2 separate regions of the Homo sapiens genome follow, and region 2 is linked to region 1. Evidence: promoter capture Hi-C in human tissues and cell types (Jung and others, 2019). All regions are on one chromosome and are shown on one strand. Each heading gives the region's core, a stretch centred on a gene start or on the middle of the fragment in contact. The rest is flanking DNA. Distances are from core to core; before and after follow the strand shown. Region 1 overlaps HNRNPL (heterogeneous nuclear ribonucleoprotein L). Region 2 holds the start of DPF1 (double PHD fingers 1).

What was found. The method cuts DNA at HindIII sites, captures the fragments that hold promoters and counts their contacts. A contact is called where the count stands out against the background at its distance.
Region 2: a contact is called between the fragment with the promoter of DPF1 here and a fragment that was not itself captured in region 1, in 1 of the 25 tissues and cell types used here (liver).

Annotation. Positions count from the first base shown.
Region 1 is chr19:38,841,380-38,846,809 of GRCh38, forward strand. HNRNPL (heterogeneous nuclear ribonucleoprotein L) reads right to left here. Exons shown (of 13, transcript NM_001533.3): 3 at 4,474-4,711; 4 at 4,271-4,356; 5 at 2,629-2,725; 6 at 2,463-2,535. Among named protein-coding and RNA genes, the nearest start is that of HNRNPL, 5.9 kb to the right of the region's middle. RefSeq lists enhancers at 1,370-1,449, 1,532-2,032. The HindIII fragment of the contact is 4,246 bases long and covers 56-4,301 here.
Region 2 is chr19:38,222,972-38,228,401 of GRCh38, forward strand. It overlaps DPF1 (double PHD fingers 1), which reads right to left and starts at 1,251. Exons shown (of 12, transcript NM_001135155.3): 1 at 1,143-1,251. The coding sequence starts at 1,171. RefSeq lists a silencer at 1,016-1,585 and an enhancer at 4,508-5,278. The HindIII fragment of the contact is 15,736 bases long and covers 1-5,430 here.

The DNA.
Region 1 (5,430 bases), core at 929-3,428:
GAGCAGTTAAAAGACACTTTGGCCCAAAGTCACAAAGCAAGACAGTGGCTGAGCCATATTTGAACCCAGGTCTGGCTGACTCCAAAACCCAGGGCTCGAAACCACTGCCCTTTCCTGCCACCCGGCCTGGGTTTTGTTACCAGTCATTACAAAATGGAAAAGGACTACTTACAGCAGAAGTACAGAGTACAATGTCCATTTGTCACAAAAAACAAATCTGTATTTTCTCTTACCATTGGACGCTTCAACAGTGAGTTAGCACAGTTCTGAAAGATGGCGTCCCATCAAACATACACTGCGACCCTGCATCACATGGTTTTACAGTCATAAATACAAGTCACGGTACACATCCGCTACAATTTTTTTAAAGAATTGTTTTAAAAGTCAATATTTTGATTAAATCAAAAATGGCTCACAGATGTTCTGTCCTCAGAAGATATCAGAAAAGTGGAAATAAAGGTGTATGAAGTGGGTAGTGTCCCTCCATGTTGTCACCTCCTCACATATGTGCTGCAGTGCGGTGGTGCGGTGCTTCTGGCTGTGTAGCGCTCCGTGTGCGTGTCTCCTGGTATGAGGTGTGCCAGTGGCCCCACTACGCTCGCGCTTTTGGCCTTGGGAGCGCGCCTGGTTACCCGGCAGCAGGTAACTGTGTGCCTCTGAGCTGTTTGGCTGTCTGGTTTTAGGTCTGTTTTGGTTTTTTTGATTTTTTTTTTGTTGTGGTTAAAATTTTTTTTTTTTTTTTTGGTTTCTGATCTCCAGTTGGTGCAGATTATGTTGGCAGCCGGTGACTGCAGAAAAAATAAAAATATCAAAACAGAAAAAAAACAAGGCCCTCCCCAAACCAAATGACTTAAAAAACAAAACCCATATGGCGAGGAATGGAGAGAGGATCCTATTGTCTTGGAGGCCCATGGAATCTACTTCCGTCTATGAAACGTTCTCCGAAAAGAGCATCGCTCGCTGGCTGGCTGGGACAGCTCTGTTCTCTGTGTTTCCTACTTCTGTGTACATTCTCGGGTTCAAGTTTGCTTGGATTTTGACCTTTTTTTTAATGTTTAATAAAAAAAGCAGTGTCTGCTGCCATGTTGCGTCTCTTTCTCTCTTTGTCTCTGTATGCCTCTGTCTCTGTGCTTGTAGCTGTTCCTTGGAGCGCGGTGTGGTGTTCTTGATGTAGTGAGCTCAAGTCTGCGGCTGTTTCTGGGGACGTGGTGGAGGCTGCATGTTCTGTTCTCTCCAGGAAGAGCTAGTGGTTTTCTACCCTGTGTGTTGGTGAGCAATGTGCAGAGGCAGAGCCGCTGAAGTATGGTTCCTGAGGGGTGGCGAAGCACCGCCCTCACTCCAGGTCACCTCATCAGCCCTCGTTTTTTTTTGGGCCCCAGCCTTGGGGCTGCCAAAGCTGAGAGGCATCAAAACCAATGCACAGCCAGCCCCCTGCCACTAGCCCCTGCCGGTCTGCACATCTTCTATTTATGTTCCTTGGAGAAGAAATGGTTGTTGCCATGTTTCTGTTAGCAGTCATGTAATGCCATTGCCCGCTCTGGTACATTCACTTGGTCACCAATTTGCCTCTGACCTTTGGAGGGAGCAGCCAGGCCCACAGGGCCCACTGTGAGGATCCTGGGGAAGAGTCTAGCCCACCCTGCCCACTGCTTCCCAGATGCAAGGGCGAGCAAGACAGGCCTGCCTAGGAATGGGGGGCTCTGGCCTCTCAGGGCCTGTGCGATGTCAGCATCGAGCCTCCTCCCTCAGCCCATGGCCTGGTCCGACGTATCAGACCAAGACAGACACCGAGATGGATGGTCTTGTTGGGGGGCTGCCGCTGTTTCTCATAGGCAATCCTCCACCTCTCCCTGCTACCAAAGGCAAACCATTCTTGACAGACACTAGGAAGGGAGTTGTCCATTTGGGCCACCTGCAGAGATGTTGCGTCCCCTCTACAAATGATGTGAGGCATGTCCGCCCTGGTCCAATCCAGAGTGTCTCACCTCCACAGGGTCAGCTTGCTCACAAGGCTCACTGCAAGAGCCCAGGAGACCTCATCGCCCCCCAACACTGTCACTCCCCCAAATCAGACCCTCTCAACAGCGCAGAACAAGAGGACAATTCCTGGTCCAGCAAGAATGGAGTGAGTGACCCTCACCAGACTCTCAAAGGAGCCACTGCTGGTTTCTAAGGCCGCCCCCACGCCTCATCCTCAGTGAGGCCCTGCTCCCCGCCCATCCAGGCTTCTGCCTTGCCTCTGTATCCTGAGCAGCATCGGAGGGCCCCAAGCAGCAGTGAAGACCCATGGAGGCCTCTCACTCCCCCATCCCACTAGGGTGTCCAAGTGCTGACCCCAAGGCCCTCCCATGTCCATGGGGGGCCCAATGGCATTACATAACCCTGAGCCCAGGCCTATTAAGTGCACTAGTCGAGTGAAAGCAAGGCGGGTATGTTTAGAACAAAGTGGTCGTCAAGATTACCTTGTCCACTGAGATTGGGGTTTGTGTAGTCCCAAGTATCCTGATCATTCTTGAACACATTCAAGCGTGTAGGCTGCAAGGACAGGACAAGACAAGACTTGAGGTCAGCCATGCCCCAGCTCACCTGGAAGCTGACAAGGGGCAGTCAGTCACCTCCCAGATGTACCTTTGCGTATTCGATCTTCAGAGTGCAACAGCCAGAATAGATATCAGCCCCATTGAGAGAGGCCTTGGCCCGCTGGGCACTTTGAACTGAGTCAAATGTGAGTCAAGTTAAGGAAAGTCCCATCACAGGAGATCTTTGAGAAGGGCTTCAAGTTACCCCAGAGTGTGATAAGGACAAGGTAGCACCCCAAGACTGTGGTACAGACGGAAGCTTTGGGATTAGCTCACTGCCCAGCCACTAGCCTCAGGTTAAGAGACCAAAACGGTGTTGATGGACTCAACGCTGCCCCGGGTGAGCAGTCACTGGCCAGAGTTCTCTCATAATCTGCACCCCGACCCATGGCCACCAGCAACCTCTTCTGCCACACCACTTTCTCCGTCTCAGCCCTCTCACACCCTTCGACTAAATCTGAAACATCAACTCGATTACAGCTCTGCCCTGAAAGTCCATCAGTGGCTTTTTCCTGCCCCTGCCCCAAGCATCGCAACGCTGTCTAGGATGCCCTAAAAGCTTCTTCCAATGTCTATTCCAAACCCGTCTGCTTGCCAGCCACTTTGCAATCCTCAGGTCTTTCAATTTCTCCATCCAACACAAGCTCCTTCTGACTTTACAACCTTTGCAGAGGCTGTTTCCTCCACCTTGAGTATAAGCTCCTATTTGCTCATAGGACATCACCTCCTCAGCAACCTTCACACATGCCCCACCTTTTTTTTTTTTTTTTGGATATGGAGTCTCGCTGTGTTGCCCAGGATGGAATACAGTGGCACAGTCTCGGCTCACTGCAATCTCCGCCTCCCAGGCTCAAGCGATTCTCCTGCCTCAGCCTCCAGAGTAGCTGGGATTACAGGCGTTCACCACCATGCCTGGCTATTTTTTGTATTATTAGCGACAGGGTTTCACCACGTTGGCTAGGCTGGTCTCGAACTCCTGACCTCAGGTATCTGTCCACCTCGGCCTCCGAAAGTGCTGGGATTGCAGGCATGAGCCACTGTGCCCGGCCCCATATCCCCTTTTAAATAAATTCCTTTTCCCAGGGGCACATTTTCTCAGGACCTCTTGAGACTATGTTCCCCAAATCTTTGTCACTCATATTTGAACTTAGAATAAACATCTTTAAAAATAAATTCCTAGCCAGGCGCGGTGGCTCACACCTGTAATCTGGGAGGCTGAGGCAAGTGGATTGCCTGAGGTCAGGAGTTCGAAACCAGATCTCTACTAAAAATAAAAAAAATTAGCAGGCGCCTATAATCCTACTAGGAAGGCTGAGGCAGGAGAATTGCTTGAACCCAGGAGGCAGAGGTTGCAGTGAGCTGAGATCGCACCACTGCACTCCAGCCCAGGCAACAAGGGCTAAACTCCATCTCAATAAATAAATAAGTAAATAACAGAAAGAAAACAAAAAGAAAAATAAATTCCTTTGTATCTCCCAACACACTGCTCTCTCCCCTAAGATCTGCACGTCCACACGATATGCCTGGTCCTTTAACTGCCTCCCTACTCAGTCACTGGGCTCTGTGAAGGCATCTGGCACATGGCAGCCACTCCCGTGGTCAGCAGACACATGCTGGCTCAAAGAATGGCCACTGTCAAGCCCTGCAAGAGTCCCTACCCTAAGGAACACCTGTTTTCCAGCAAAGGATATTCCACCATCGCCTGAACTCCATTCTTCCTGAAAATGACAATTCTCTGGACAGGGCCACAAGGATTACAGATAGTGTAAAGAACATCCTGCAAAAGCAAACACAGGCAAGATGAAGGGGCACTGGCAGATCAGTCTGGCTTGGGGGAGGGAATAAGGGGAGAAAAGGAAGGGAGACCTCACAAGAAATGCCTGCTGGCACGTACCGTGGTGATCGAATAAATGGGGTTCAGGATGGTAAAGAGAAGCACACTGTTCACGCTCCGGGAGTCATCCGAGTCCCCAGGGCGGGAGATCTTCTGGCTGGTAGAGTAGTTGACAAAAGCTGGGTGACCAGCAATGTATATTTGGTTGTCGGCTGCGTAGTTCACTGCGTTGCAAGCCCCCAACACATCTTCAAACTCCACCAGTGCTTGTCTCTTTTTAGGCATTACCACCACATAGCTGGCAGAGAGAACACAGGTTTCAATCCTCTCAGGAAAATGTAGACAGGAGGAGGGTATCATTTGATTTTTTGAGAACTGACTCCTCCATGGCCTCTGAACTCCTCTGCAACCCTATCATGGTTCCCCGACCTGAACACCCTGTGCCACAAGTAGTACCAAAAGCCAAAGAGGTCTAGCTGAGCCATCATGTCCCTCTGGGAAGCCTTCCTGACCTCTCCTCACCAGACTGTCAGATGCCACCCACAGACGGCTTCTTGAGCTTACACTATGACAGTGCAAATCACTCTAGGAGGGCAACTTTCTAAGAGAAGCATCCAGATACAGCTCACTACTGTATTTGCAGTATATAGCATGCACCAAATATTCAGTAACTACTTGCTGAATGAAAGAACACTGGCCAGGAGCAGTAGTAGCTCATGCCTGTAACCCTAAAACTTGGGAGGGCTAGGTGGGCAGACTGCTTGGGCCTAGGAGTTTGAGACCAGCCTGGCCAACATGGCAAAACCTCACCTCTACAGAACAATATAAAAATTAGGCCGGGCGCAGTGGCTCACGCCTGTAATCCTAGCACTTTGGGAGGCCGAGGCGGGCAGATCACGAGGTCAGGAGATTGAGACCATCCTGGCTAACACAGCGAAACCCCATCTCTACTAAAAATACAAAAAATTAGCCGGGTGGGGTGGCCAGCGCCTGTGGTCCCAGCTACTCGGGAGGCTG
Region 2 (5,430 bases), core at 1-2,500, 620 kb before region 1:
TATCCCTACCTGAACACATGCAGACACACAACACAAATCACACACAGTCACACGGGATTCACACACAAAGAGAGACAAATCCCAATACTCACAAAGGAGAAACAGACAAACCTCACACACGTGCACACATAAATATCTACTGAAAAAGACAAATATCCCAAGTTCCATAGTGTGGAGACAAATCACACAAATAACCATGCACAAAGACACATCACATATCCACAGACACACACCAGAAACACATCACCCACACAAAGACACACAACATGGAAACATCACACCACACACACATACACCCCCTCATGCATCCAAAGACACAAGCATGTCAAAAGACAGGAACTACAGAAACCACTTGCGCCCCTAGGCACTTACCCATGTATCCAAAGACACAACACAAACCACACACACAATATCCAGACACACAACACAAAGAAATCACACAGATTCACACAGGTACACACACACATTTACAAAGATGCACGATGCGCAACCAGTATCTAAAATATCACACATCCACACAGACACACACACATATAAAACACAGAAACAGCCAAATCCACCCATAGTCACACAAAAATTTACACACAAATACACGCAGCCCTACATACCCAAAAACACAGAACACAAGACAAATGACATATAGTTCCAAAGGACACGGACACACACTGGGAGACCCAAATATCCAAAGATATCTAGTGCAGAATAAAAGGAAACAGACACATGTCCACACACCTATCCCCCAAAAATTCTTAAAAAAACCAGAACACAAATAAGTGATACACACACACACTCCACATCCCAAGACAAAGGTAGTGTGGACTTCACTCCAGTTGCCAAGGCCCCCGCACCCCCGGGTCATTTCAGTCTCTCCCAGACCCGAGGGTTGCAGGGAAGGGATGATGTCTCCCTTCCCCAAAAAGAATCTGGAGGCCCCCCACGCCCTCCACCCCGCCAGGGAGCGGTGCATCCGACACCATTCTTGTCAGAGACCCACAGTCACACACTCTCGCACCCCCGCGCAGCCCCGCACTCGGTGACAGCCCCCCAGACACCCCTTCGGCCCCACCCCCGGTCGCCACACACACACAGGCCCGCGTAGACCCGCCCGCGCTTCCTCTCCGCCTCCCGCCGGCCCGCACCACCTCAGGGGGCCAGGGATGACAGTGGCCATCTTGCTCCCCGGGTCCTGCCCCCAGCAGGTCCCCGCCGGGTCGGTCCTCCCAGCGGTCGGGCGGGCGCTGAGGCCGCCCATCCATTCATTCCCGGGGGGCGGGAGCACGAGGGCCACGGCCAATCGCGGCGACGGGGCGGGCCCGCCCGGGCCATGCTGGGAGTGGTAGTCCCAGGCCAGGGGGCCCCCGGGACCCCGCGGGGACGGGACGGCGCGGAGGAGGGGCCCGGGGCACGCACCGTCACTCACCCGCCCTCACTCGTCCACATATCCTGCTCTCGCGTGCACACAACCACATGCACACCTGGACTCGCACACGCCCACGCATGGCAGTTTACACACACATTCACGCGGATACTCACAGCCTCCCACACACTCCTACTCACACACCTTCGCACGGACTCACACAGCCACACGCACACACACTGCAATACTAAGAGACGCAGAGACACCTCCCAGGTGCCCACACAGACTTCTCACCAACATGCTTCCAGCAGACACCCCCTCACCGCCCCCCACCCAAGTCCCTCCTGGCTCCAGAGACCCCACCCGGGGCTGTCTCTCCCAGCAGCCACGCTCACGGTCACCCCGCCCTGCTCAACGCCTTCTGCAGGCCTGACAGCAGCAGTGCAGGTTAGAAACAGTAGTCACACCTCCAGGGTTCAAATCCTAGCTCTGCCACTTGGTGGCCATGTGACCTTGGCAAATGACTTAACCTTTCTGGGCCTCAGTTTCCTCATCTGTAAAAAGAGGATGATGCCTCACTGGAGTGTTGTGAGGATTAAATGAGTAAATATAGGTAAAGCATTTTAAGAGGTGACTGGCAGGCCAGGCGCAGTGGCTCACACCTGTAATCCCGGCACTTTGGGAGGCCCAGGCAGGTGGATCACCTGAGGATGGGAGTTCGAGACCAGCCTGGCCAACATGGTAGTAGTCTCTACTAAAAATACAAAATTAGCCGGGCATGGTGGCGCATGCTTATACTCCCCCACTCAGGAGGCTGAGGCAGGAGAATCACTTGAACTCAGGAGGTGGAGGTTGCAGTGAGCTGAGATCGTGCCATTGCACTCCAGCCTGGGCAACAAGAGTGAGACTCCCTCTCAAAAATAAATAAATAAATAATAAGAAAGAAAGAATAATGCGGCCAGGTGCGATGGCTCCAGTCTGCAATCCCAGTACTTCGGGAGGCCTAGATGAGAGCACTGCTTGAGCCCAGGAGTTTGAGACCAACCTGGGCAACATATCCAGACCCCTGTGTCTACAAAAAAAAATTAAAATTAGCTGGGCATGATGGCGCAGCAGTGTAGTCCCAGCTACTTGCAAGGCTAAAGTGGGAGGATAGCTTGAACCTGGGAGGCTGAGGCTGCAGTGAGCTGTGGTCTCACCACTGCACTCCAGCCTGGGTGGCAGAGCGAGACTCTGTCTCTAAAAGCAAACAAACAAACAAACAAACAAACAAAAAACTAAGTAAGCAGGGCGCCGTGACTCATGCCTGTAATCCCAGCAATCTGGGAGGCTGAGATGAGAGGACCGCTTGAGCTCAGGAGAACAGCCTGGGCAACATAGCGAGACCTGGTCTCTACTAAAAAAAAAATAAATAGCTGGGCATGGTGGCACATGCCTATGGTCCCAGCTACTCAGGAGGCTGAGTCAGGAGGATTGGTTGAACCCAGGAGATCGAAGCTGCAGTGAGCTATGATCACACCACTACACTCCAGCCTGGACAACTGAGCAAGACCCTGTCTCCAAAAAAAAAAAAAAAAATAGATGCTCAGTAGATATTTGTTGAATGAGTAAATGCACCCATCATGTGCTGGGCACAGTTCACCCCGGGATGCTTTTATTATCTGCATTTTCCAGGTGAGGAATCTGAGGCACAGGAAGGTAACCTCACATGCCCGCATGCCCTGGCGGCTCTTTGAAGGTAAGACTGAAGGAAGGAGGCAGGCACCCCTGACGGCCCTCCCCAAGTAGTCCTGACCTCCTTCTCTCTCCCACTGTCACCCACACTGACTCCACCCGAAGAGATCCCCAGGGAGTGAGCAGACCCACTGAGTCACAAACTGACCCAGTCTCTCTGCAACACCACCACCCCGTCCCCCCTCCCGTCTCACCCCTCCTCCCCCTTTCCCCTTCCCACCCCTTCTCCCCCTTTCCCCTTCCCCTCTTCCACCCGGACCCCTGTAGAGCCAGCATTCAAATTTGGGCGGCTGCTGTAATTAACACGCCCACAAACGCCCTCATCCACCAGGGGGCGCCCCAGCCGACAGAAGTGGCCCGCTAGCCTTCACCATTTTTGTCACTTGAAATCCCCCCAAGAGAGAGATCCAGTCAAGGCCTCCTACACTCACGGTCACTTCTACACACACACACACACACACACACACACACACACACTCCTCTAGTCTTAGACCCTTTCCACAAACTCGCCCATCTAAGCCAGGTAAGGTCTTGGCCGGCCCCTCTCCTGGAACAGGAGGTAGGTCTCTGATTCACATATGGCCTGGAGTGGTGACAAGGGGATTAAGTGAGGGGCACTGACACCCCTACGATCACTCTGGCCTCCAGGGCCCTATAGTGGCCACCTCACACCTTACCCACGGTGAGCTGTGACCCCACCTTCCTCTCTCACCTCCCATTAGCTCACAGGTCCCGTAACACACCCTCTTACACTTGATTCCCACACCGCTAGCCTCAGACACGCAGACTCACTCCTGCCCCACCCCAAACTCTCATGTCGATTTGATTAAGAGAAGCCCGAGTGTAGACACTGAGTGCAGACCTTCCTAACAGTCCTCCTCTACCAGCAGAATTTCTATTTTTCTTTCTTTTCTTTTCTTCTTTTATTTCTCTTCCTTCCTTCCTTCCTTCCTTCCTTCCTTCCTTCCTTCCTTTCTTTCTTTCTTTCTTTTCTTCTCTTTCTTTCCTCTTTCTCTTTTTCTCTTTTTTTTTTTTGGACAGCGTCTCACTCGATGGCCCAGGCTGGAGTGCCATGGCATGAACACAGCTCGCTGCAGCCTCCACCTCCCAGGCTCAAGCGATCCTCCCACCTCAAACCCCCAAGTAGCTGGGACTACAGGCCTGTGCCACCGCACCCGGCTAATTTTTGTATTTTTGTAAAAACAGGGTGTCCCTGTGTTGGCCAGGCTAGTCTCAAACTCCTAAGCTCAAGTGATCTGCCCACCCTGCCCTCCCAAAGTGCTGAGATTACAGGCATAAGCCACCATGCCCGGCCCACCAGCAGGATATCTACCCACAGACGCAGGCTGACACTTGCAGCGGGCTCTCCTTTCTTTCCTTCTGCCCTAACCACCTGCACACACCACTCCCACATACTCTCCTACACACTTGAACTCCCAGTCCTCTCCCTGGCCCAAACAATCCTCCTGCCCCATCCCCCAATGCCCTGTGTGGGAGCTGGCCCACAGTAGAAATCAATTTCATAAATCAATATTGATACTACTAATAATAATCACTACATTTGGTCAGTGTCAGTCTCTGTGCTAACTGCTTTACAAAGATGGCCTTAGCCCCACGACAGTCCCATCGGGTGGTAAGGGCTGTTAGAAGCCCCCATACACAGATGGCAAAACTGAGGCTCACGGCAGGGAACATTCGTGGCTCAAGCTGGTTTTGGAACTCAGGCAGTCGGAACTTCCGAGGGCGGCACCCTGCAGCTCCTTCTCCCCAGGGGATTTGACTCACATTCTTTCAGGAGCCAGGGAGTCCCCACCTTCACCCCCACAGAGACCTTTTGGAAGGGAAGGGCACAGAGGGGTAGGGCCCTCCCAGTCCAGGCTTACTGTAGCTGGGCCCCTGCTCACGGCTGTAGCACACCTCCTCCCAGGGGTCTGGGCCAGGGTCAGGGTGAGGGGCCCCATCGCCTGTAGATCCACCAACCTGCACAAGAGCCCCGTTCCCAGCCATTTTGCGGATGTCCCCTCACAGGAGAGACAGCTGTCTGTGTGTGCCACTTAGGGTGAGAGGGCAGCAGAGGGGTGTCACCATCATACACCACCTCACACGGACCCGAGCCCCACACACCCGCTCCCGGCACCCTGCTCACGGCGAAGCCACACGTGTAGGCGCTTGCCTCTAAGTCCCTGCCCCCCTTCCTCTCCCAACTCCCACCCTCCACCTCCCACCCCCATTCCCGCCAGAAACCAGAAGCAACTGGCGGCCTCTGGTCCAGCCAGCAGGCGCATCCCTTCTCGTGGGTGGGGTAGGGGGGCGCTCCCTCTCTCCCTCTCTCCCCCCAC